7 separate regions of the Homo sapiens genome follow, and all the other regions are linked to region 1. Evidence: promoter capture Hi-C in 16 types of primary human blood cells and fetal thymus (Javierre and others, 2016). All regions are on one chromosome and are shown on one strand. The core of a region is centred on a gene start or on the middle of the fragment in contact, and the rest is flanking DNA. Distances in the headings are between cores, read along the strand shown. Region 1 holds the start of SNX14 (sorting nexin 14). Region 2 overlaps RWDD2A (RWD domain containing 2A). Region 3 overlaps DOP1A (DOP1 leucine zipper like protein A). Region 4 overlaps DOP1A (DOP1 leucine zipper like protein A). Region 5 overlaps PGM3 (phosphoglucomutase 3). Region 6 has its middle 43 kb from the start of AKIRIN2. Region 7 overlaps UBE3D (ubiquitin protein ligase E3D).

The links. The method cuts DNA at HindIII sites, captures the fragments that hold promoters and counts their contacts. A CHiCAGO score of 5 or more calls a contact.
Region 2: a fragment that was not itself captured here is called in contact with the fragment with the promoter of SNX14 in region 1 in 4 of 17 cell types (total B cells, naive CD8 T cells, naive CD4 T cells and 1 more); the score reaches 6.1 in total B cells.
Region 3: a contact is called between a fragment that was not itself captured here and the fragment with the promoter of SNX14 in region 1, in 7 of 17 cell types (total CD4 T cells, total CD8 T cells, naive CD8 T cells and 4 more). The highest score is 16.7, in total CD4 T cells.
Region 4: a contact is called between a fragment that was not itself captured here and the fragment with the promoter of SNX14 in region 1, in 6 of 17 cell types (total B cells, non-activated CD4 T cells, total CD8 T cells and 3 more). The highest score is 15.9, in total B cells.
Region 5: a contact is called between a fragment that was not itself captured here and the fragment with the promoter of SNX14 in region 1, in 6 of 17 cell types (non-activated CD4 T cells, activated CD4 T cells, monocytes and 3 more). The highest score is 10.2, in non-activated CD4 T cells.
Region 6: a fragment that was not itself captured here is called in contact with the fragment with the promoter of SNX14 in region 1 in 5 of 17 cell types (M0 macrophages, non-activated CD4 T cells, M2 macrophages and 2 more); the score reaches 15.7 in M0 macrophages.
Region 7: a contact is called between a fragment that was not itself captured here and the fragment with the promoter of SNX14 in region 1, in 6 of 17 cell types (activated CD4 T cells, non-activated CD4 T cells, total CD4 T cells and 3 more). The highest score is 12.4, in activated CD4 T cells.

The regions. Positions count from the first base shown.
Region 1 is chr6:85,592,431-85,595,980 of GRCh38, forward strand. It overlaps SNX14 (sorting nexin 14), which reads right to left and starts at 1,428. Exons shown (of 29, transcript NM_153816.6): 1 at 1,149-1,428. The coding sequence starts at 1,288. RefSeq lists enhancers at 1-504, 505-1,088, 1,089-1,672, 1,121-1,290, 1,601-1,720 and a silencer at 1,351-1,570. The HindIII fragment of the contact is 2,215 bases long and covers 691-2,905 here.
Region 2 is chr6:83,196,637-83,200,494 of GRCh38, forward strand. RWDD2A (RWD domain containing 2A) reads left to right here. Exons shown (of 3, transcript NM_033411.5): 3 at 1-2,299. Among named protein-coding and RNA genes, the nearest start is that of RWDD2A, 5.2 kb to the left of the region's middle. The HindIII fragment of the contact is 3,139 bases long and covers 1,002-3,858 here.
Region 3 is chr6:83,161,121-83,165,072 of GRCh38, forward strand. It overlaps DOP1A (DOP1 leucine zipper like protein A), which reads left to right. Exons shown (of 39, transcript NM_015018.4): 38 at 1,670-1,799. PGM3 (phosphoglucomutase 3) reads right to left here. Exons shown (of 13, transcript NM_015599.3): 13 at 3,753-3,952. Among named protein-coding and RNA genes, the nearest start is that of PGM3, 30 kb to the right of the region's middle. The HindIII fragment of the contact is 5,842 bases long and covers 1-3,952 here.
Region 4 is chr6:83,075,052-83,078,685 of GRCh38, forward strand. The region is part of intron 1 of DOP1A (DOP1 leucine zipper like protein A); the gene reads left to right. Among named protein-coding and RNA genes, the nearest start is that of DOP1A, 9.2 kb to the left of the region's middle. The HindIII fragment of the contact is 2,053 bases long and covers 858-2,910 here.
Region 5 is chr6:83,177,597-83,181,471 of GRCh38, forward strand. PGM3 (phosphoglucomutase 3) reads right to left here. Exons shown (of 13, transcript NM_015599.3): 7 at 2,214-2,371; 8 at 1,077-1,160. Among named protein-coding and RNA genes, the nearest start is that of PGM3, 14 kb to the right of the region's middle. The HindIII fragment of the contact is 1,054 bases long and covers 1,978-3,031 here.
Region 6 is chr6:87,743,082-87,746,690 of GRCh38, forward strand. No RefSeq gene overlaps it. Among named protein-coding and RNA genes, the nearest start is that of AKIRIN2, 43 kb to the left of the region's middle. The HindIII fragment of the contact is 2,193 bases long and covers 352-2,544 here.
Region 7 is chr6:83,056,069-83,060,157 of GRCh38, forward strand. It overlaps UBE3D (ubiquitin protein ligase E3D), which reads right to left. Exons shown (of 10, transcript NM_198920.3): 2 at 1,758-1,954. Among named protein-coding and RNA genes, the nearest start is that of UBE3D, 7.7 kb to the right of the region's middle. The HindIII fragment of the contact is 7,857 bases long and covers 1-4,089 here.

The sequences.
Region 1 (3,550 bases), core at 178-2,677:
AAAACAGCTTGCGGATGCTGTCAATGAGAACTATCTCAGATTTCTTTCCACCAAAAGCAAATCTGGTGTTAATTTTAATGGAAAAGTCTCCTCTACTACCTATTGCATCGCAACAATTTCTTGAAATAGTAAAATGAAGTAAAACAAGTTTATTTCGGGGGCAGAATCTTCTGATTTCAAAATGTCAATTGAATTTATCAATTTTAACCTTTCGGAATATTTCAGGTTTTTTTGGGGAGGGTGGCATCAAGTCCTCTTAAGAATATTATAGGGATGTGGCCGGGTGCGGTGGCTCACGCCTGTAATCCCAGCACTTCGGGAGGCCGAGGCAGGCGGCTCACGAGGTCAGGAGATCGAGACCATCCTGGCTAAAACGGTGAAACCCCGTCTCTACTAAAAAAAAAAAAAAAAAATACAAAAAAATTAGCGTGGTAGCGTGGTGGCGTGGTGGCGGGCGCCTGTAGCCCCAGCTACTCGGGAGGCTGAGGCAGGAGAATGGCGTGAACCCGGGAGGAGGAGCTTGCGGTGAGCCGAGACCGCACCACTGCACTCCAGCCTGGGTGACAGAGCGAGACTCCGTCTCAAAAATAAAAAATTCTAAGGATGTTGGGACGGGTACCACTTTGCTTTCTGATTTCTGTCCAACAAATCTTTATGATCGTCTGTTTTATTCAACAATACTGCGGGAAAAGCTTCAGCTGCAAGCTGAGGGGGTGGGAGGTGGGGAGATGGAAGAACGCGCTGCAGGTGTGCGGATTCTGCCTAAAATTGCGGCTACGAACTGGACCTTGAACACTCCTCCGTCAGCTGACTTGACTGCCTGTGTACAGTCTCAATTTGAGCCGACACACGGATTTCACTTTTGAAAAGCAACGAAGATGAAGAACTCGTTTTGAGAAATGGATGAGAAAAAGGTAGCTCAGGAGACGAAGCCTCGGGAAAGGAGGCAATCAACCCCACCCCACCGGCCTGTGCTTCCGGCCTCGACGCTCCGCCGTGCTCCCCGAGGCCGCTCCTCTGCGGAGCTCGCTCTCCCCACTGGTCCCCAGTCCCGCAGCTACGCGGCCTCCGCACGGTTAAGCAGCACGGGCCGGGCGTCTGCACCTTCGGAGAAAAGCCGCCGCCCAGGCTCCGCGCTGCGGCGTTACCTGTTAAGAAGCAGGGAGGCGGCGCTGAGACAGAGCAGCAGGAAGCAGAACAGCGGGTACTGGCGGCAGATCTCGCGTCCCACGTCCAGTCGCAGCCGCTGCTTCAGCTTCTGCCCCATCGTCCGCACCCAGGGCACCATCTCCGTAACGGCGAGGCCGAGACTGCGCTACTGGCTGAGGCAGAGGTCAAGGCGACCCCCCATCCACACCTCGCGTCCCCGCCCCACCGACTTGGCGGCGCACACAGACGCCTACCGGCAGTTAGCCGCCGCAGGCTGAGGTCGCGTCCGGCTGGGCCCAGCCCCACGCCCCCCGCCGCGCGTGCGCGGCCGCGGTCCCCAGCCGACCAGAGGAACGGCCGTAGAACGTGCCCGAAGTCGTCACCCAGCGCAAAGCCTCTAGCGTCTCGCCGCTCCGCCCTCCTGGCCGGAGTAGCGCGCAGTCTTCCGTGGAAACTCTGACAACACTGGCGACCGGCCATTTCCGGAAATCAAAGGACAGCCCCAGCACCCAGTAACTGCCTGTATTGCGGAGGAGAGGGAAGAAGGTTGTAGGGAGCCCGGAAGAAACTACAGCACCCCCGTAGCCGCCGGGCGCTGCCTGAGGGGCAACCGGAGCTCGTGGAGCCCGCTGGGAACTGTAGTCTTCGTGACACGAACCCGCAGAGGGATGGAGCGGGTGGTAGCGCTTCCCCGACCCCGCAACGCTCCGCGCCTCACCGTACACTCGGCTCCGGGTGGGAGCAGGTCCGAGCTTTGCGTGACGCCTAAGGGAGAGGGGGATAGGAGGACGCCTTTGAGTCGGTATTTTAAAAGGGGTGTGTTGGGGGCTGGGGGGGTGGCGAGTAAAACAGCCCTAGAATAAAGACTACAACTCATCAGGCCGCCACCCCACCAACAAAATCTCTTTTGCGCGCTCACGGGCAAGGGTAGAGCTCAATTCACGCCGGCTCCGGGAGCCCAACCAAAATCCGAGTGCTTGGAAGAGGCAGGTTGGCAGATTAGGTAAAATCCCTCTTATAGAGTCTCATGGGGTTTTCCCTTTACTAATTCATCACATTTCTAAATTTTTTTTTCTGTATTGTCCGCTACAGTGAGAGATGCAGGAAGACTATTATCGCGAAAATTTACTTAGGCGGTACAGACACTAAGCACTTTCATTTGACCTTCATGCATTCACCCCATGGTGTAGGTACAGTACTATAGTTTCAATCATTATACAGGCAAATTACTGAGACAGAAAGGAACTTAGGATCATAAAACTAACAAAGCCGGAATTTGAACACGTTCTAAAGACAGAGCCTGTGCCTGTCATCTCTCTTTCCTAGGATCTTATCCTTCAAAGTGGGGAAACAAATGTTTTTTAATGATGTATGTAGTTTCATGAATATTTTCCCGTATTACAAAAACATGGATCTTTAATGATGCATTATTATCCTTTATCAGAATGTACCATCCTGTTCCATTATTGCTAACCACTAAAGTCCATTGATATTACCATCCTTGATGATAAACCTATGCACATTTCTAATTATTTAGAATCAACTTTAATACAATTACTGGGTCAAAGGGTAAAAACAAACATTCTTGATACAGTCAAACTGCTTTGTAGAATGGTGGTACCAACTCCACAGTGGTGTATAAAAGTAAACAATTTCACTGATCCTCACGATTAGCTATTATTGTCTAAACATCACAAATACACTTTTCTGTTTGTGACTAAACCATTTAAAAGACTACAGTGTAACATCATTGGAAAGCTTACCATTTTTTAATATTTCTAGGTACATATTTAAACATTTATTAATTTCACTTTGGCAGTTTTTAAGTATCTTTATCTGTTAATACTAAAATAGGTGTATGTTGAGTGGATCTACATGTATCAAGTGCCTCCTATGGACTTGAGTGCTTTACACTTTTGTAAATTACCTTTTAAAAAACTAATCTCATGACAAATAATGTAAGTTATTAACCTGCCTGGTAAATTATGTTGCCTTTTGTTTAAAACTTTTGCTTCCTTTTAAAGCCTTATTTTGAAATTACTCTTTTCACCAAGAGCCAGTATATTTTAAAGACAAAATGTTTTGAGTTCTGTTCAAAACAGACATCACTACAACATCCAATTAAAAGACTTCTTTCCCATCTGATTTCTTAGAGGCAATTAGAATAAGTTAACTGGACAATAGATAATTTAAATTTCCAAATTGCTCTTATGATTAGAAAAGGAAAAAAAATATAATAAACTTCAGCCATAAGGAAATTCTTTATGGCAGAGAATTTCCACACCTAAAGCATGAAACATAATTCAATTTCTGTCACTACGGACCTCATCTAAGGAAATAACCTTTATTTCATTACATGTCTTTAGCCTATGGTCTAGAACCCACCTTTACACGCACAGAG
Region 2 (3,858 bases), core at 1,321-3,820, 2.4 Mb before region 1:
TCACATTGCTAGCACACATGTGACACACCCACTTGTCTTTCATTATTGGAAATCTAAATCAAGTTTAAAATGAGAACAGGAAGGACATGTTTACTTCCTTTTTTGAGACGGTGCGATCTCGGCTCACTGCATCCTCAGCTTCCCAGGTTCAAGCGATTCTCCTGCCTCAGCCTCCCAAGTAGCTGGGACTACAGGCGTGCGCCACCACGCCCAGCTAATTGTTATATTTTTAGTAGAGACAGGGTTTCATCATGTTGGCTAGGATGGTCTCAATCTCTTAACCTCGTGATCTGCCTGCCTCGGCCTTCCAAAGTGCTGGGATTACAGGTGTGAGCCACCGCGCCCAGCCCGTTTACTTCATTTCTTACTTTAAACTCCTATTTCGAGTGTTTTAGTAAAACTAGATCCTAATAGCAGTGGCAAAGGACTCATAGACATGAAGTCCCACGAGTTAAAAGATGACACACAATGCTATGTGTTCTGGCTGTTTATATCAGTTCATGATACTAGCAATCCTGATACCAGTATTAGTTTAATTCTTATCCAGAAAAGATAAACACATGGTTCCTTGTCTACAAAGTATTCGCCTGTTTCAATCCAACCTTTGCCTGTGTGCCAGTATGCATTACTATAAAGGGCAAGAGACTGTTGAGGGGACCAGTGTGGATATCTGCATCATTACCTTATTGGGAAAAAAAAAATCTAATTCTACAGTCCGATGATGTTACTGCCATCTCCTCTGAAAATTCCAAGCTCCACAGGCTTCACCAGGCTTTTCAAAATGAGAGTTTATTTTAATGATTAAAAACCGCTATTTAAGTAGCTCTTGCCAAGCCTTTTCATTACCAGGTCTCCATCCCTCCCCAAGTATTTCTGCGAGTCTCATGTGCTAAGAGATGTCTTGAGCAGCCTCTGCAGCTTTCCGTGTTTCTGTGGTCAGCTACTGCTGCCCTTTCCCGGGAGGCATTCCATTCTCCTACTGGGTCCTCTCAAGATGCCAAAGCTTGGTGCTGGGATTTAGGAACACATCCTGTTAGATGTCAGACAGTGCTGCTTGTGCTGGGGAGCCTACAGAACTTCTGATGAAACTACCATCTGGTTTTACCCTCTGTGCCGTGGATGCAGACGTGTCCTTGGGCTACAGAGAGGACATGATGGAGCAGGAGGCCCTATCCCAAGGAGGTGTTAGAACTGGGTCCACTTTGTACTGCCTCTTTCTTCTTAGGTCACAATGAGTGTCCTCTCAGGGCACAACTCAGATCTTCAACCCATGGCTCGCTGTAGGCCTGCCCCGCCAGGTCCTCCAGCTTGCCATTCATGTTTCCATCCTAGCCTTGGTTGTGCTGGAACTCAGGCTGGAGCCTGACACTTTGCCTATATGCAAAGGGAAGAAATAGGACTTACATTGCCAAGGAATCACTTCTTAATGTTTGCCAGCACTAAAAACAACAAAGTATAGGAATCTTTTTCCCCCACAGTCTCCACAAAGCTATCAATAAGTATAATTCGCATTTACAAGTTTTAGGCCTTCAACAGATGTAACTCCATCCAAATGAATCAATATGTGCCATCAACCTACCTTATAGAGGTGTTTTTCCTGATTACATGAGCAAAAGTAGCTACAGAAAGATGGGTGTAAAGAAAAGGCAATAAATTCTAGGTTATGAACTCTACTGCTTCTGGAGCTATTTCTGAGATTTTTCAGAACCTACTTTTTTATAAATAAGTCTAATTTGAGCATTCTGCAATACTTTTTTTCCTATCAGGAAAACTAATGCAGATAGTATTATGGGGACGTGTAGGTTTTATAGAAAAAAAAAGTACATGTATAATTCAAAACTCAACTTTGTATGTATAGGAGTCTGCTGGTTGTTTGCACAGCCTGATATGAGCACATAATAAAAGTCCGTCATTCCCCAACCCCCTCCCCCTACACACACAGCTTATTTTGGGAAACTGCCCCTTCCCTGTGTGATTTGGGAAGAGAAAGTGATAGGAATCAAGTTGTCCTCTGGCAGCCTCCTGGAGAGATGGCTGTGAGCTCTTGCTGCTTAAACCTCTAGTGCCACCCTCATTTCTGACCTACTGAATGCTCAGCTGTTTGGCATTTCCTTTGAATGACCCAGCATCTTCCCTTTTGTTGTCGGAAATCAGAATCAGTCTCTATTGCTTGTAACTTAAGAATCTGGATATTCTGTTTATTATATTCTTAAATGGTTATTTGGAAAATGTGCTCATTTATAAAAGTTACAGTGTCTTTTTAAAGTTTGCTGAAGTAAATGAAGCATATCGTCAAGTATGTTCTTTGCTTTTCATTCCTTACTGGTCTATTATGTGTTAGGCTAAGAGCTGAGGACACCTGCATAGTGAATTGAGTAGGCCAGATGAGTTGGCAGACCACAACACAGGGACCTCTAAAACATTCCTTATTAAATCAAACATACATTGCCTGTGAACTTGAGCGTTCACATATAACTCCTTACATGCCATCCATCCCCTCTCAGAACCTGAGAAGGTTCTGATGGTGTCTGTCTGCAGCCTTCATGGAACCCTTTTGAACAGGTTTTTTTCACTTGCTTTTATCTCAAGTAGCCCAGTAGTAAGTCAAAAGAATAGTTATTGTCTGAAGAGGGCACAGTGTTGCTCACACTTCCTGGTTTTATACATAATCCTGATTTGCCACAGAAACTCTGAGCCCATTGGCTTTCCCTCATAAGGTCCACATGGTGGAACTAATTTCACCATAGCCTGGACCAGCTAGAGAGACCTCTCTTTCTGATCCCAGTCAAAACTAGATGCATTTGGGTCAACCCCCGAATGAATTTGAGCAGGGTACACAGAATTTAAGTAAGCCCACTGTATTAGCTCATTCTTATGCTGCTAATAAAGACATACCCGAGACTGGGTAGTTTATAAAGGAAAGAGGTTTAATGGACTCACAGTTCCACATGGCTAGGGAGGCCTCACAATCACAGCAGAAGACGAAGGAAGAGCATAGGGATATGTTACATAGGGGCAGGCAAGAGATCTTGTGTAGGGGAACTCCCCTTTATGAAGCCACCAGATCTCGTGACACTTATTCACTACCACGAGAAGTATGGGGTAAACCACCCCCATGATTCAATTATCTCCACCTGGTCCTGTCCTTGACACATGGGGATTATTACTATTCAAGGTGAGATCTGGATAGGGGCACAGCCAAACCATATCACCCACCAAACCCTGGGAGTTCTCCTTAGTTATAGAAGGAACAAAGTACACAATTTGTTCCTCACAATGAAGGGGAAATCCCAGCATGTACCAGACACTGGACTTCTACAAAACTTGGCTGCAGGCTCTGTGCTTTCATGGGATTTATCGTTCACCCTCTGGGATGACACATCTTACTAGGCATCCAGGAAACATGACTCCATTCTCCAAGTCCAATCAGAATATCACCTGGAGGCATACAGCATGCTGCCCTGTATAGTGGTAAGCTGATCAAAGGTCTGATATCGAGACTGATATTCTGACATAGAAAGTTAATGTAATGTTGGAAAAAGACAATCTACATTGCTGCTTACTGAGATAAAGAAAATGCTTCAAGTGGTCTTTACTTACTGGAATAAAGGAAAAACAAAAAAGCATTGACCAAATCAGTAGCCAGCTACTTTCTGATTTGCTCCAAGAAAAAAGAACTTATATGACAGCAGCTGCAGTTGGAATCACCATCTGCTTAAGTTTCGGAATATGTGCAGCCATTCTATTTTTTTGAGACGGAGTCTTGCTCTCTCGCTCTGTCACTCAGGGTGGAGTGCAGTGGCCCAATTTCAGCTCAAAGCAAACTCTGCCTCCCGGATTCAAGTGATTCTCATGCCT
Region 3 (3,952 bases), core at 1,435-3,934, 2.4 Mb before region 1:
AAGTGATAACTATTCTGTGGTGCTTTTGGAGGGACATGAAATAGTATGCTCATGATACTGACTTTTTATCTTCCATGACAAGAACCAAAATCAGTTTATCCTCTTTGTCAAGATGTTAGTTACTACAAAAGGGAAGGAAACATGCCGTTATATTAATTAGTTTTTTAAAAACTTACATCTTTCTAAAAATAAAAATCTATAAAGTAGAAAGTGTAAAGATTTTAATTATCTTGAAAGAGTAATATCTTAGCATGATCCATATTTGGAAAGTTCAAAATACTTGATAAGTTTACTGTATATAAATTTAAAAGTATCCATGTAACTAAAAGGTACTATAAAGTTCGAAAGATAGCAATGAATTGGTAAAAGATATTTTCGATGTATATGACAAAAGTCTAAAATGCATAATGTATAAAAATAACCTGGTAGAAAAATGAGCCAATGAGCAAGACAGTTAATAATTTATAGGATGGTTTCTAAACATAGGAAAAACTGCTCAGTTGTTCTCCTGAGTTTCCGATTAAAATTATAGATAACCATCAGAATGGTAAAGATCTGAAAGTTGCTTTCCTTTTACTTTTAGTAACAGAAGCATTCTTATTCTTGTTGGAAGTATACACTGATATTGTCCAATTGTTCAGAGGTTATATTTACCAAAATTTAAAATATATATCTTTAAGCCTATAATTCTGCTACATCCAAGGATTTATCCTGTCTCTATATTCTCAGATGTGCACAAAAATAAATAAGCATTACTTAAGAGTATCCACTGTGGTACTTTGTAAGTGCAAGAAGTTGGACAATCTAGGACATTGGCTGTGGTGTACTACTATGTTGCTGTTAAAAAGAATGAAGTTTTATATGATGCAGAATTGTCTCCAAGATATGTAATTTATATCAAATAAATTATATCAAAAATATATATCCTACATGTATAATTAAAACAGGCAGCAATCATGTTTTTTTAAAAGAGAGGGTTGGTTGTGTGAATATATACTCTTTTGGGCATAAACTCTCTGGACGGACTTACGAAGCTGACAACATTGATGAATCCTATGCGGGGAGGGGAGACTGCCTTTCTTTGGTATGCCCATTTATACTGTTTGAATTTTTCCCATGGTCGGATATTACTTTTACTTACTTATGAAAGACAAAATTACAAACAAAAATACAAGAGAAGTGCAAAAAAAGCCCTTAGTTTTCTTAAATTCGTTCAATTTTTTACTCCTTTACTATGCAACTAGGGAACATTTGGCCAGTTATATGTTGAAAAATCAAGTCTTTGTCAGACTGTTATGTTGCAGTACAAAGAGATAAGCTAAATGAAAACATCTTCCTTTTAAGAACCTTATGCCTGTTCGCTAATGAGAAAAGAAACATTTGTTGAGTACTTGCTTTGGACTCATGAAAAAAGTAATGATGAGTACTTTACAAGTTTTCATATTTATTCCTTACAACCTTATGAGGTAGTTAATAGTATCTTTATTTACTGATGAAGGCTCAGAGAGGTTAAGAAACATACCCAAAGTGACAAGGCTACGAGTGGCACATCTGGCATTTGAATTTTTATAAGCAGTGGGGTCATGATCTTTCTACTACATTATGTGGCCTAATCTTAGATGGCACAAAGTCTGTCTTACTGATGCTGATGTCATTATTCTATACATAGGTACCGATGGGCCTTTATTCCAGAAGCCTCAGATGATTCAGGTTTGGAAGTCAGAAGGCAGGGTATACATCAACGAGAATTTAAACCTTACGTGGTACGACTAGCAAAACTTCTTCGGAAAAGAGCAAAGGTATCGCATTCTTTTGTGATTGTTTTGTTTTACATCACTACATGTTGCATTAGTGAGGTATTTATTAAATACTTCCTGGGAAACTGAGAACGTTATCAAGTTGAGCTATTTTGAAAACAAGTCCCCAGTTTTGAGAGTTAATGTCCATAAGCCTCATATTTCCAGACATTAGAAAACATATCGTATGTATTTTAAAGGAATATGCGGTTATTCATTTTTTTAAAGAAGAAAAAGGAAGGCTTTTGTACATTAATAACATCTACCTTAAAATGTTTTCCCCTCAAAAAAGAAAATAAAAACCTTGGAACCATACATGTGAGTATTTAAGACTGTAGTCCTGAACACTCTTCGTGTCAAAAACTTGAGAATGTAATATAATGTTCATCTTAATGCCATGATGACAAACAAAAGTATGAGTTGATTGAAAAAAATACAGTACAAAAGGGATTTTTAGAACCTGTCAGAGTTGTTTCAACAGAACTAATCAATGGGTAAGAAGATTATACATTTTAAATTTGTAAAATATGAGTCAGATTTCATTGAAATTGAATGAGCTAGACCTCGATCAGAATAAAGGAAATAATCATTAGCATTCATTCTGTTTATCTATATGAAATAAAATATATATGCTAAAATTCATTTTCTAAGTATTTTTCACTTTCTGATTATAACCTACATTCAGAAATGTGTTCCTTATCCTGATCCAGTACAGCTATATAACCGAATCTAAAGTTTCACAAAACAGTTCTTGCCCTTAACATGAGATATTTTCCTTTTTGTAGTTCACAGTGATGATGCTGAGTACAGATTGCAAGACCCCCACAACCTGCAGTTTTTAAAACAGTGCTCAGAGTTAAACTGGCTTTATGACTCTTTAATATAAAGCATCTTCTTAGAGAAATTATTTAAGGGGAAAAGTGGGAATTTACTTAAAACATATACCATTAAAAAGTGTAGGAAAATAAAATTTGTAAAATATTGTCTTATATACTTTTTATCTTTCAGTATGCATCATGCTAATTTATTACAGATCTTTGCCCAAGAACCTACCAGCAATGAAACTGGTATGCTCACCATTGGGCCTTTGTTATTAACCTTTTGTCAAATTTTCTTTTACATTCAACAAATTTCAAAATCAAATTGTACAATTTGGGAGTGATCTAGGTTGTCTGGTGAGATCTAGTATGCAGTGTGTGCTTTGAGTGCTCAGAAATTTTCCAGTCTTCTGGAGTCCTCCTAATCAGGCAGCAGCTCTTAAACTGAATTCCATAACTATAAAAATGGAATGAAGAAAGTGATTAAAGAGATTTTGCTGGAAGGAATTTACATGAGAAAACTTGACTTAAATTCCTAGTTGCTTCTGTAGGGGCTTAATAAAAGGACAGAGATGAGGATGTATGCTGGGTCCTGAGTTCAGGGTAGGACTTTGGTACTTTCAATTTGATATCTCAGAGTTTGGGCAAGTAATCATGACAAATCCAGAAGCAAATATGACCCCAGGCACATGTCCTTTTCTGTTATGCCTGCCTTTCATTAGTAATGAGAATTTTTATAAGACCCCCCTCCTTTATCTAAATAATAAATATGACAGTCTTTTGCCCAAAATTTGTCCCACAGAATAAGAAAACTATTTTGATTGAAAGGCATCTTCCCATCCAAATCACCTTAAACAAGGTCTTCATGGCCAAGCATACTTTTCACTGGAACAAAGGCTGTGAGTTCTCCTCTTTCCTTCCACAGGACAAGGAGGAGGACTTTAAGACAGTGATTTTGGAGGGATTGGAGATGGCCAAGCATCAGGTGAGGGTGGCTGTTTCATGCTTATGATATGGCAGCAAAAGTTGCCAAATATTGAGACACAAACCCAGGTCTGAATGTCAACAAGTACAAGGGAGGTAAACAGGAAGGAAGTCTTTTTTCAAGTGTGGACTGGTGAAGTCAAAGGAGAAATCATTTGTATGGAAACATTTGACTTTATTTAATATTGAGACAATACATATAGTTCTGATTAAGAGCATCAGAAACTCTGAATCAAGTGTATTCTTCTTGGTCAAGAGCTTAATAAAAGTCCCTCTCTTAAAGGCTCATCTTGATAGGAATAGAAACAAAAGGTTACCCCATAGTTCTCTTACATTTGGAAGTTAGCTATATAG
Region 4 (3,634 bases), core at 634-3,133, 2.5 Mb before region 1:
AGATATGTATTGTACATATGCAAATTAATATATATTTTCCCTCTTTTAATATGATAGCATATTATAAACACTATTCTGTGCCTTGCTTCTTTTAGTTAATATATGTTAGCACTTTAAAAATCAATGTATACACTTAATTCATTATTTTTACCAACTGAGAATATTCTATTGTCATTCAATTTTTATAATGTTTATTGACTGTTTACCGTGGGTCAGGCACTTTTCTAGGAGCTGGGGATTTGAGAGCTAAAATGACAGATGAGGTCTCTCTGTTATAGCGATTACCACCCCTGGAGTCACAGTTCAATTACAATAAAGCAAGGTAAGTTCTATGATAGAGGAAGTATAGCATGTCATGGGAGTTCACAGGAAGGAGGTGTATATGTGAGTGTTAGGGGAATGGTGGAATGGTCCTGGAAGACTTCCCAAAAGGGATAAAATCTGAGACCTGAAGGATAAGTAGGTACTTGTCAGGTCAAGTTAGGATTTAGTGTTTGAAACAGAAGGAATAAAAGGGTGGCTCTCAAAAAATGCATTTAAAAATTATTGCAAAGCTATAGTAATCAAAATAGTATGGTACTGGCCAAAACAGACATATAGATCAATGAAATTGAATGGAGAGCCCCGAAATAAACACTAGTTTATACGGTCCAACAGTGTTTGACAAGGGTGCCAAGACGACTCAGTCAGGAAAGGATAGCCTCTTCACCAGATAGTGTTGGGAAAAACTGATATCCCTATGTGAAAAAATGAAGTTGTATATCTTATACCATACACAAAGATTAACACAAAATGGATTAAAGACCTAAAGATAAGACCTAAAACTATAAAGCTCCTAGAAGAAAACATAGGAGAAAAGCTTTATGACATTGAGTTTGGCAGTTTCTTGGATATGACAGCAAAAGCACAGACAATAAAAGCAAAAATAAAAAATAGGATTGTATTAATCTTAAAACTTTCTGTGCATCAGAGAGTACAAGAGAGTGAAAAAGCAAACTATGGAAAGGGAGAAAATATTCATAAATCATGTGTTTGATAAGAGGCTAATACCCAGAATATATAAAGAAAGAGCTACTCTTACAGTTCAATAACAACAAAGTAACTGAATTTTAAAATGGGCCAAGGACTTAAATAGACATTTTTCCAAAGATGATATATAAATGGCCAGCAAACATATGAAAAGATATTGAGGCCGGGTGTGGTGGCTCAGGCCTGTAATCCCAGCACTTTGGGAGGCCGAGGTGGGTGGATGATGAGGTCAGGAGATTGAGACCATCCTGGCCAACATGGTGAAACCCGGTCTCTACTAAAATACAAAAAATTAGCTGGGCGTGGTGGTGCACACCTGTAGTCCCAGCTATTCAGGAGGCTGAGGCAAGGGAATCGCTTGGACCTGGGAGGTTGAGCCAAGATCGCACCACTGCACTCCCGCCTGGAGGCAGAGCAGACTCCATCTCAAAAGAAAAAAAAATGTTGAAGATCACTAATCATTAGATAAATACAAATCAAAACCACAAAGAGATACCTAACCTTACACCCATTATGATGGCTACTATTAAAAAAAAAATAGTTTTGGCAAGGATGTAGGGAAATTAGAAACTTCTTGGGCACTGTTGGTAGAGATGTAAAATGGTTCAGCCCCTGTGGAACACAGTATGGCCATTCCTCAAAAAAAGTTTAAAAAATTACTCTCTAAATGCAGCAATCCCGCTTTTGGATATATCCAAAAGAGTTGAAAGCAGGATCTGGAAGAGGAATTTGCACACCCATGTTGATAGCAGCACTACTCGTGATAATCAAGAGGTAGAAACAACCTATGTGTGCATCTATGGATTAATGGATAAGCAAAATACAGTATCTACATAGAATGAAATATTACTAAGCCTTAAAAAAGGAAATTCTGACACATGCTATAACATGGATGAATCTTGAGGACATTATGCTGAGTGAAATAAGCCAGTTATAATAAAAAGACCCATACAATATGGTTCCCCTTACATGAGGTATCTAAAGTAGTCAAATTCATAAAAGCAGAAAATAGAATTGTTGTTTAATGGGTATAGAGTTGCAGTTTGCAAGATGAAAAGTTCTGGAGATTGGTTGCACAATAATGTGAATGTACTTAACACTACTGAACTGTACACTCAGTGGTTAAGATGGTAAATTTTGGCCAGGCTCAGTGGCTCATTCCTGTAATCCCAACACTTTGGAAGGCCAAGGCCAGAGGATTGCTTGAGCCCAGTTGTTCAAAACCAGCCTGGGCAACATAGCAAGACCCCTTAAAAAAAAGATGGTAAATGTTATATGCTTTAAAAACAATTTAAAAAGGACTATAGGCTGGGCACAGTGGCTCATACCTGTAATCCCAGCACTTTGGGAGGCCAGGGCAGGAGGATCGTTTGAGGCCACAAGTTCAAGACCAACCTGGGCAAGAAAGTAAGACCCTGTCTACAAAAAAAAATTTTTTTTTTTTAATTAGCTAGGCATGTTGGCACCCACCTGTAATCCTGGCTACTCAGGAGGCTAAGGCAAGAGGATTGCTTGAGCCCAGGAGTTAGAGACGTCAGTGAGCCATGATTGTGCCACTGCATTCCAGACTGGGTGATAGAATGAGACCTTGTCTCAAAAAAATAAAAAGGACTTTAAACTTCTAGAAACATGAAGCATATGTACATTTTTTACATTTTATACTGTCATGTAAGCCATGTTTCTAAATCAGGGGTGTCCAAACTTTTGGCCTCCCTGGGCCACATTGGAAGAAGAATTGTCTCAGGCCACACATAAAATACACTAACACTTAACTATAGCTGATAAGCTAAAAAGGTCCATGCATAAATCTCTTAATGTTTTAAGAAAGTTTACGAATTTCTTGGGCCACATTCAAAACTGTTCTGGGCTGTGGGTTGGACAAGCTTATTCTGAATATTGAAAAAGATACTGATTTAAAAATTAGGTCAAAGGGGTTGAATCACTAGGTATCATGCAGAGACATAGCATTTTGAGTTTGAGTATAATTTAATAGAAAATTAAATTCTATCCACAAAATTAATAGCATGTGTAAAGGCACTGAGATGGGAGGGAGCAAGTCTTGAACAGTGGACAATTGCCTAGGTTTTGCTTAGCTGGGACAGAAGTGTGAATAAGATTGAAGGAATGGGTCTATTTTATGAAGGCTTTATATGGCTAACAGCTTGCATTTCATGTCTAAGAAAATGAATATCACAATTATAGCAGTAATAAGAGCACTTCTTATACGCTAAGTTAACACTGAGCTAAAGAGCTTTCCAGGGATTATCAAATGTACTTTTCTGAGCTTCCAGCAGGGAACATGCTCCACCTGCTTTTTCCTGTGTAAAATTAATTGGCTCTTGGAGAAGGTGAAGGTAGTGAAAATAGGTTGTTGACATAGTCCAGGTATAAAATAGGCATGAATTAAAGACCATTCTGAAAAATGCACATTTGTAGACTTTATTAAACTGCTCCAAATGAAATCGCACAAGTACAAACTTGTGTAATTAGGAAGATGATGGTGCTGTTGACAGTAATGAAGGAAAACAAGGAAATTCAGAAAATAATAGCAGTGCTTGACAGACTTTACAGCATTTCTTGGAGTGATATTCTGACAACAGAGGTA
Region 5 (3,875 bases), core at 1,255-3,754, 2.4 Mb before region 1:
AAGATAAAAGATGGCTAATGACAAAAATTCTCTCCTTGACCAAACTTTAGTTAGGTTTAGGTGGGCCTGACTAGGCCTTGTCCTTAGGCATGTCTTCCAATAGCCCGATTTTAATAAGAGTCATGCTAAGTGAGCTTAGCGAGAATCCCTCATCCTGATACATGACCACTCTTGACATCTGATCTGAGTTCTCATTCTCTACCATCCCCCAGGTAATATGTGACCGCCCTGGCCTACCTTCAGCAAAAGTCCTGTTAGATCAGTTTAGCCAAAATACCACCCACTTACCCTCATGTTTCCTCTCAGTAATTTTTCATCCACTGACCACCCCCCACACACCCTGCTCCTTGGCTATAAAGCCCTACTTTTCCTTACTATATTTGGAGTTGAGCCCAATCTTTCTCCTACCACTGCAAAACTCCATCACATTAGTCCCTGTACCTATCACAACAGTCCTGAATCAAGTCTGCCTTACCATTTTAACAAGTGTCATGAATTATTTTTTCTTTAACACTAGTCCTCAAATAGGAAAACTTGAAACCACCATTTGTCACACACATAGTTTATCCTAAACTTACTTGGTAATAGGGATGGCCACCTGTGTTAACTGCCCTTCTCTAAAGGAGTAATAAAACTTTTCATACCTCTGTGACAGGTAGATAGTTACAAATTGGACGCAAACACCTAAGTTAAACTCTCCTGAGACTGGGAGATAGGTGAGCTATCTTCCTTGATGTTTATATTTGAAATTGGTGACTCTAGGCCCTTAAAGAAAAGTATTCCTGAGCTATAAAACTGGCTTATTAGGCCTTTAGAAAGACTTACATTCATTACAAAGGCACAGAGAAAGAATTCCAAGTTTTCTAAAGGAAAACTCCAAGAAAAGGAAGGAAAGAAGTTTTCCTTTATTCATCAAGGACAACTAAATTTTTTCTTATTTATTTCTCTTTACCTTTACATGAACAGCAGCTCAGCTTCATGCACTACAACATAATCACTTTTATGAGGGCAGTATCTTTCTCACAGAAACATGATCTTAATTAAGAAACTACCAGAAAACAAAAATGGTTCAATACCTTCATAACTTCTTCAAGATACCGTGTTGAACTTCCATTTGCATATGCAGTTTGTACAACACCAATATTCAAACTTTCTCCAATCTAGACAAAAACAATGATACTTAACTTGCCATCAAAAGTATGGTCTACAAAAACAAATATAATGAGAGTTCTAAAGGCTACCAAAATTATCAGCCAGTTCAGTTGTGCCTTAGTTTATGCCAAAAATGTCTGACTGAAAATTTACATGTATGCCAGGAAAAAAGCCTAAAATACATTTGAACACTATTTAAAACAATTCTATGAGAATTCCTCTTTTAAGAAGCCTGTATCTCCTGATCTTCACCTCTTTAATTTTTTAAATAAAAGTATCTGGCCAGGCACGGTGGCTCACGCCTGTAATCCCAGCACTCTGGGAGGCCAAGGTGGGTGGATCACCTGAGGTCAAAAGTTCGAGACCAGCCTGGCCAACATGGTGAAACCCCATCTCTACTAAAAGTACAAAAATTAGCCAGGTGTGGTGGCATGCATCTGTAATCCCAGCTACTTGGGAGGCTGAGGCAGAAGAATTGCTTGAGCCCAGGGAGGCAGAGGTTGCAATGAGCCGAGATCACGCCCCTGCACTCCAGCCTGGGCAACAGAGCAACACTGTCTCAAAAAAAAAAAAAAAAAAAATCTATTAAATTCTTAAAGTATGCTGTTTCCAGATTATAATAATTTCCAATTACATTGTGTACTTAAAGCTAGCCTGAGATTTATTTCTAAAATAGCAAAATGAAACAAATCTCACATTACTAAGCTTATCATAATCAGTTAATATATCAGATGATGAGATTTCCTATTAGAATTTAGGGCTTTTATGGAGTGACCACAGAACTGTCATCAAAGTTTCAATTATGATGGAAGCAAAACTTCCTAAAGCTTCAAATCACAAAACTCAGCCAGTATAAGGAGGAAAAGAGTACCTTCAGGTTCCAAAGCCAATGCCTCAAATGTTCAAATGACTGGGTATTACCACTGCTCTTTTTTTAATTTTCTGCCCACTAATGTAAAGAATTTGTCATAAATTGTGCCCTTCTGACAAATGATTGTAAAATATGGAACTATTTCACTACTAAGTCTTGTTTTAGAGGGTAGCCAATCCCCCCACCATACCTCCACCAGGAGCTCTTTAAGGAAACTGCTAATTAACGTTGCTATCTTGTCTCCATCTATGAGATGAAAGTGGCCATCTGCATCATGGTAGTAATAAACAATTCTGTCTGCATCTCCATCAAAAGAACAGCATCTTTCATTGGACTTAATTTCCATTCCTAGCACACAGGATAATTTAACATGCATTTCAGTCTAAGAATTTATTATAAAGAGTTTTAGAATTTTCTCTTAAAATTATCCACCTAAAAATCAATGTCTTAATCTTAAATAGTGTATAATCTTTAAATAGTACATAGTTTATTAGTGGTTTTTACAGGTCAAATTCTTTCACTGCAAAGTGAAAAAAGGAGCATTCAAAATCTATGCTGATATTTGCTATAATACTACCATAAAATTCCACTTTATAAGCAGGTTGGTTTGGCTAGACAGGTGTCCCATAAAGGTTTTTTGAAAGCTACATGTATTTCTGAATGTAATTTACCTAGGACCGTGATCTCCTTTACATAGAAAAAATAATCAGCACTAGATGATGTATGTGCTTTAATTCTAACAGAAATGATTTTTATTTGTTCATACCACCAATAAAAAGAAACACTGATAATTAAGAGCAAAGAATTATAACTTTGAGAGATAACTGGCCTGTGAAATTTACATAAAGTTGCTGAAATCTCAGCAATTGTCACATCAAATTTATTAGAAAATTTGGCTATTCCTTAGCCATGACAGCAGCAGAGTGACAAATTCAACATGAGACAACTAAGAAGTAAAAGGCTTTTGTCAGGAATGGGATCATAAGATTGATGAAAGGACATGATGCAAGCTTCAGGAAAGCAAGGACTATGGTTTTGTTCATACTGTAGTCCCAAAGCCTAGAGCATAGAGAGTAAGAGCTCAGTATTTAAGAAATGGATAAATAAGTGGCAGAACTGAACTGTCAAGTAAATGTCAAAACAAGCAATTCAATGAAAAGGAGCTCAAATTGGTTGACTACACTGACATTTTAAATGCTTACTAAGTAAAGCATAATAACATGAATGAATGAGGCAACTGGATGAAGTCTGTAGAGTTCCAGAATGCATGTCCTATTTTAGGGGAGCAGCATCTATCTGACTGTAGTGGACTAATGCCATGTGTGAACATTTTCTGATTTTGGTAAAGAGATGCTAGAGATTCCAATATATAAGAGAAGTCACGGAATTTTTAAACAGTGGCACACAGACAAACACACAAATGCAGCCAGCCAAACAAAACATATCTGCAAGTCAGGTTTGGCCTAAGCAAATAATTTAGGGTCTATAATGCAGATAAATCCAGAACACCTCTTACTACAACTAAAATCTGAAGAAAAGTCTTCCTCCTATTCTGCACTGAGTGGAAAACACTGATTGCTAACAACTGTATAAGCAGAGTTACATTTGCTTTCCATAGTGTATTTAATTCAGATAAGGTATCTAATAATACTTACTATGCTCCCCTGTAGATCTGTGATTCTCAAAAAGGGATCCCCAGACAAGCACTGGGAACAAAGCCTGCAAACTTGATAGAAATGCAAATTTCTATCATATGCAAATCCTATGCCAGACCTCCAGAAACTCAGAAGTGGAGCCCAGGAATCTGTGTGCTAACAAGCCCTCAAAGTGATTCTGACACATGCCAGTTTGA
Region 6 (3,609 bases), core at 198-2,697, 2.2 Mb after region 1:
CTCTCCCTTCTGAACTAGAAGACAATTTCAAAAATAAGACTGTATTAGTTATCATTTTTAAAAATTCTTTATAATGACAAAGACAATGCTCTGCATTACAGTAATAGATTTTTAAAAGAATTAAATAAGAGAAGCCCCTTTAGAGTTAAAAAAATATTTCTAACTTCTTTAATAATCAGAATATCTAATGGCTATCTCGGTTCTATGTAAACCCTAACAAGAAAAAGATAACCTCAGTTCATAATGCATAAAACATGCAGCACTGAGAAAAAAGACCTCTGAAGTACAGGGGTGTTCTATTCTGTTTTGTTTGCTTCCTTATTGTTTGGGAGAGGAGACAGCTAACAATGAAGCTTTCTTTAGCATTCAGTGGAAAGAACGTCAAGAAATCTTGTTTTTATTTTCTCTTGAAAAATGAGAAGCCATATTCCCTCCCATAGTTACAAAGTATCATCCTGTCCTTGATCTCTGTTTCTAGAATGTTCTCAATTCAGATGGTTTTTATCTAGATTCAGTTGGAGGCCTGGATGGCCTTGGTTCTGATAACTAGAAATCTTGTGACAATCTCAGAAGTCTTCTGGGGCAGATTTCTTTGGTTTTGGGACAAGATTTGACCAGCCCTGAATCTGTGACAGGTCTGGGAGGGGCAGGGGAAGAAATGAGCAGAACCTGGAACAAGGTCTACACCTCCGCCCCCTTACAACTTGACTAGGAAGTTCTTTCTGATGGTCCCTCATTCAAGAGTCAAGATTACTACACATTAAAATTTTAAAAAGACAATGGAAGAGCTCCCAGCAAAATAGCCTATGTGGCAGTTTAGAGGGTGACTTTCTTCTCAAAAAGAGAAAGTGGATGTAAACCAACTCTTCTCCTTTCTTTCTCTGACCTGTAAAGGCAGAACTGCCTGGACAGGACAAAAATGCCTGATTTTACTGAACAATCCTATTTCTTTCTCTTCTTTTCTCTTTCTTTCTTTCCTTCCTTCCTTTCTTTCTTTCTTTTTTTTCAAGACAGAGTTTCGCTCTTGTTGCCCAGGCTACAGTGCAATGGCACGATCTCGGCTCACTGCAAACTCCATCTCCCGGGTTCAAGCGATTCTTCTGCCTCAGCCTCCCGAGTAGCTGGGATCACAGGCGTGCAGCACCACACCCAGCTAAGTTGTATTTTTAGTAGAGACAGGGTTTCTCCATGTTAGTCAGGCTGGTCTTGAACTTCCGACCTCAGGTGATCCACCCACTTCGGCCTCCCAAAGTGCTGGGATTACAGGCATGAGCCACTGTGCCCGGCCATGGACGATCCTATTTCTTTTTTTCTTTTTTTATTTTATTTTTTGAGACAGAGTATTGCTCTGTCACCCAGGCTGGAGTACAGTGGTGCGATCTCAGCTCAAACTGCAGCCTCTGCCTTCTGGGTTCAAGTGATTCTCATGCCTCAGCCTCCCGAGTAGGTGGGATTACAGGCACCTGCTACCATGCTAGGCTAATTTTTGTATTTTTAGTAGAGACAGGGTTTCACCAAATTGACCAGGCTGGTCTTGAACTCCTGGCCTCAAGTGATCCACCTGCCTCGGCCTCCCAAAGTGCTGGGGTTACAGGTGTGAGCCACCACCCTCAGCCTGGATAATCCTATTTCTTTCCTTTTTTTTTTTTTTTGAGACAGAGTCTTGCTCTGTTGCCCAGACTGGAGTGCAGTGGTGCAATCTCGGCTCACTGCAACCTCCTCCTCCTGGGTTCAAGCGATTCTCCTGCCTCAGCCTCACGAGTAGCTGGGATTACAGGTGCACGCCACCATGCCTGGCTAATTTTTGTATTTTTAGTAGAGACTGGGTTTCACCATGTTGGTCAGGCTGATCTCAAACACCTGACCTCGTGATCCACCTGCTTCAGCCTCCCAAAGTGCTGGGATTACAGGCATAAGCCACCACATCCTGGCCGACAGTCCTATTTCTAAGAAGGTGATCCACTCATGCTGAATCAGATAACACAGTAAGCTCACAGTGGGCCCTCAAACAATGGTCATTGCTCTGATAGTTATAATGCTAATGTTGGTTGGGTTCTCTGATACTGGGACACCAGGCTGTGATCAAATCCTGGGGGACCTCTTCAGCAGGAGAGCAAATAGGTTCTGAAGGAAGAGTCAGAGAATCTGGATTTCATGGCATTTATTTGTCCTGAATGCATTCAATTTTTTTTTTCTTTTCTTTTGAGACAGGTTCTCACTCTTTTACACAGGCTGGAGTACATTGACATGATCATGGCTCACTGCAGCCTCTACCTCCTGGCTCAGGTGATTCTCCCACCTCAGCCTCCCTGGTAGGTGGGACTACAGGCACGTGCCACCATGCTCGGCTAATTTTTGTATTTTTTGTAGGGCTGAGGTTTTGCCATGTTGCCCAGGCTGGTCTCAAACTCCTGGGCTCAAATAATCCTCCCACGTCAGCCTCTCAAATTGTTGGGATTATAGGCAAAAGCCATTGCACCCAACCCACATTCACATTTTACATGTCTCAATTAAATAGCCCACCAAATTTGGAAGGAAGAACTAAGCTTTTAAAAATGTCTGAAAGAGGTACATCCTGGGAAAACTCTCCCTCCTCTCAGTATGGAGGAGGCTTCTAAGGGAGGAGGTCACCTCCATCCTTCCTAGAGAGAACAGAAGACACAGGGGTGTTTGTTTCACCTAGGAGATGACAGCACAAATTACTGTTTTCTCTGTTAACAAATTTCTGAAACATGTTAGTGCCTTGTCTGTTGCCTGAAAGGGTGGAGGGCAGAGTATAAAACTGCAAATTGCTAGTTAGGTATCCGGTATTCCAGTTTTAAGAAATCTGGAATTCATGATTATGTTATGTTTAATTTCAAATTTAATGTTAAATCTGGAAAATCTAAAATATTTGTGACAACAAATTAAATGACAAATGAACTTGAAAATAAATGCAGAAAGATCAAGAGTTAAAAAAAAATTCAGTTAATCCACTGTCTGTTTACCTTGTGGCTCTCTTTTCTAAGTTAACTGGAAAATATTTAATCACATGCCTTTAATTAAAGCTCTGTACCCGTGGAGAAGCACAAGTAGGGTTTGTTTCACTTAGGCAAGAATGTCCAATGGTTCAGTTGCTAGAAAATTGGTATTTAATAACATCTAGCAGATGTTAACATTCTAGAAGAGATTCCCATTTTTTTAAAACTTGTGGAGAAAAAAACTGAACCTTACTGAGAGGGAAACAGCCTTCAATATCTTTTCTCCTCCTCCTCCTCCTCCTCCTTCTCCTCATCCTTCTCCTCATTCTCCTCCTTCTTCTCCTCCTTCTCCTTCTCCTGAGCATATTCAACATAATTGTCTGGGTGGGATGGACACTCTGAGATCCATTTGTGAGAAACACTGACTAATTTCATTAACTACCGCTAAACCAACCTGCAGATGTCATATGATAAACAGACCAGAGGCAAGGTCCTGTGTCATGGGGGAAGGCACCACATTGGGCTGGCAACCAGGGATCCTGCTTCTAGCCCAATTTTTCTGGGAACAATCTATATAATCCAGGTAAGGTCATTCATTTCTCTGGGCCTCAGTGTGCCTCTCTAGACCTTCAGTGGGTTGACTAGATGG
Region 7 (4,089 bases), core at 391-2,890, 2.5 Mb before region 1:
GTGAACACAAACAATATGCAAATCAGCACATAGCAGTCAATTTATTTTGTCCTATAGTTTAAACAATGTTTGCAGATTTAAATTTTTAAAAATAATTCCAGTTTTGATATTTGTATATTCAGTTACAGAATACAGAATATGGATGGGCAAAAACCCAATACTATGTCCCTGGTGGTCTCTATTCCTCCATCTCTAAAATCACAATCCCAGAAAACACTCCACTGTGGCTTTCATGCTTGCCTTTCCCAAATCTCAGAACCCAACACAAAATTCCTGCTGTGGTTACTCTTGTGAAAGAGGTAACTGTTGTGAAGGAGAAGGTGATGACAACACAACATCCAGCCTCCCATGGCCTCTTCCCTGAAACAACACTTTCTCTGCCCATTATTAGGTGCAATCAGGGAGTCTACTTCCCAGCTCGGTGACCCTAACCTTCTTGCTATGGTTATTCCAACAGTCATTCCTAGTATTTATCCTACAACATTTAAGTGCCATGACATCTCTTTTCCCTACCCTTTGTTCCTAAAACTAACCCTGCCCAACTCAAACTAGTTATTCACTAACCCAGGACTTGAGCAAAAATTGCTCTCCAGTAAAAAAGAAATGAAACCCTCTCTATCTTCTCTTTCCTCACAAAAGCCAAGAGCACAGACTCAGGGGAATACTCAACATCTCCTAAATGGCTCTTCCAAACACTCCTCCTGACCCCATCTCCAGGATCCACACAGCGCAGATGAAAGGTTTATTACAGATGAGGCAGCAGCGAAGTGTCAGTGTGCAGCTGAAAGAATTACAATCTTTCTCTGATAATAAACATCACATAAGTCTTTTACAGCCTATTTCCCCCTTTGACATAATTTTAATCCCCCAAAGCATATATTACGTACATTGTAATAGATGTAATGAACCAATAATTTTATACAATAAATAACCCTGAGGTCTTAGAAAAAGCAAATTTTCCACTGCCTTACCGAATCATTATACCAGTTACAAAATGTTGTAAATATAACAGGCATAGTAAAAGTTAAAATCAAATTAAGTATCAAACTCAACTGTAGGACCTTTTGTGTACTGTTTTCTCTATTTGGAACAGTCCCCACATGGATAGGATTTCCTTATTCAGGACTCAGGTCAAACATTACCTCCTCAGAGTGGCCTTCACTGATCATCCTTCAGCCAACCCTAGTCACTCCCTATCCCATTATTCTGTTTTATATTATCATAACACTTTTCTTAATATTTAAATTGTTTGCTCATTATCTGCTCCCACCAATTAGAATGTAAGCTCCATGAGAGCAGACACCTCCCCTACCTTGTTCACTCTGTATCCCCAGAACCTAGATTGATGCCTAGCACATAGCACAAACCAAAATATTTGTTGAATGAATAAATTTCCATGTAATGCTTTAAAATCAATCAGGTCTTATACAACTGCCATCTGATTTAATCTTCCCATCTGTGAGCCAGAAAATTTTACAATTAAAGAAACAAGGCAGTGGGTAAATGGGAAATCTCTATACTTTCTGCTCAATTTTGCTGTGGGTGGAAAAGAAAGAAGGAAGGGAGGGAGGGAAGAAGCCTCAGAAAGGTTAAGTAACATGTTCAATTGCATACAGCCAATAACTGGCAGAGCTGACAAAGACCCTAGAGCTTCTCAACCCCTTCACCTGGGAAAAGTTCAACTTATCAAAGGAAAAATCACCTTTGGTTTATAACAAAAAGGTAAATACAGCAGCAGAAGTGCTAATATTACTCACTTGTGCCTAATTTTGCTTGCGTCTGCAGTCGCAGGTGCAGTCCATCTCCAACAACAAACTGTAGCCCACGGCAAGAGGAAGGTACAAGCCTGACCTCTGCTGGAAGCTGGATTTCTGTGCAGCCTTCAGGGGTTTTCATCTGGAGTGAAGATGGCATTATGGAAATATTCATGGGCATACCTCCTTCTTTCGGTTCTCTGGTAATTAAAAACAAAACCCAAACAAATTATTTCTCACAATGAAAACCACATGATGAAAGAAACAAAAATGGCCAAGGATCTCTTTCTTCCTCTTCAATAGGAGCTCTAAAGTCACTGCCCCAGAAAAACAGCAGCAAGCAGATCATAAAGGAAAGCAACCTACACTAGATTTAGATCTGATCAGAGTGCCCTTCACCATCACCATAATATGCAAGTCCTGGGACAGATTTTTGGTTCTTCCTTCTGAGAAGAGCACTAAAATAATGTTTTATAGTAAATCAGAGCAAAGTACTGTTATTTCATATACAAGATTTTAATAAAGAGACCAAGATTCAGTGAAACAATGATACAAGACAAAAACCTGTCAATTTTAAGAATAAAAAGAATTAATGAAGAAAACGATACAGTGATGTATGAATATCAGGTGTGAAAGGACTTACTAATCCAATTCAGAGCAAACACAAATTACTCAGTATAGGCAATAAAGAGTAAAACACAGTCCCTGTCAAAAGCCCCCAGGCATCAAAAGTATAGAGGGGATAAAGGCATCTATGGAAATGACCCTCCTCTGAAACTGCAATACGCTTAGCAATGCAACAGAGGTACAAAGTACCATGGCTCCCTCTTAAGTGCAGACAGCAGGTCATCCACATGGTGTCAACTAAGTGCAGACAGCAAGCCATTTGCTTGAGTGTCATCTGAGTACAGAGGGTAGACCATGTGCTCAGGTGTGGATCTTGGTTAGGCCTTAGAAATCTGCCTTAGAAAATCTTATAGCTACTTTCTGGCTAGTTCCTTTTCAAAGCATATGGATCTGCACTTAGTTAGCAATACAGAATATTAAGCATCTGAGTTTTTTGCAGGGATGACAGTTTCAAACCTGAGTCAAAAGTTCAATTTCAAGAAATGGTGTTTAAGAAATAATGATCCTCTAAAACAAGAGTCAGCAACTTTATTTCTGTGAAAGACCAGATAGTAAATATTTTAGGCTTTATGAGCCATGTATGGTCTCAAAGTAGAATACATATTATACTTTTTATTTTTTAAAAAACAACCCTTAAAAAATGTAAAATCAGCAGGTCGAGGTAGCTCACTCCTCTAATCCTAGCACTTTGGGAGGCTGAGGTGGGAGGATGGTTTGAGCCAAGAAGTTTGAGACCAGCCTGGGCAACAAAGCAAGGCTCTGGCTCTACAAAAAAATAAAAAATAAAAAATCAGCTGGGTATAGTGGCACGCACCTGTAGTCCTAGCCACTCAGGAGGCTGAGATGGGGAGGATCACTTAAGCCCAGGAGGCTGCAGTGAGCCATGATCACGCCAATGCATGTCAGCCTGGGCGACAGATCAAGAACCTGTCTAAAAGAAAAAAAGATACAGAAGAAAAATCCAACTCTTAGCTCACAGGCTGTACCAAAACAGGCTGCAGGTAGGATTTGGCCAATGGGCCATAGTTCTCTGACCACTGCTCTAAAGATAACACAATGTCCATTTGCTACCTCAATGACTTTCAAACTAGACTGTGTAGAGTTGACACTTCCAAGTGCCGCAAGAGATACCACTGGGTTCCTAAGTCCCCATTGCCACCCCATCTCTGGTTTATCACATTTCTTCCCAGTCCCAAAAACTTTAGTCATTTTATAGGGCCAAGCAAGAGAAGCATCATTGCAAGGGTGGTGACACAGTGGCCCAGCACGGATTTGAGAAACTAAGCAGACTGTGGAGGGCATCCATAGGGCCAAGCAAGGGAGGCATCAGTGCAAGGGTGGTGACACAGTGGCCCAGCATGGATATGAGAAACCAAGCAGGCTGTGGAGGGCATCCACCAGGAGGACCACTCAGCAGGGGTGTCAAATCCCAAGACAGGTGAGGAGGAAATCTGAACAGGAGGTGAGGCCAGCTCAGGATGGGGTTTCAGAGCCTGTCTTAGCTCAGCTGCTATAACAAAATACTATAGATGGGTGGCTTAAACAACAGACATGGCAGAGTAAGGAAGTTCAGTGCCTCTTCCTCTTCATATAAGGACACTAATCTCATCAGGGGGGCCCCGCCCTCAAGAACTCATCTAAATCTAACTACCTCCCAAAGCCCCATCTCCTAACACCATCACTTTGGGGGTTAGGGCTTCAACATGTA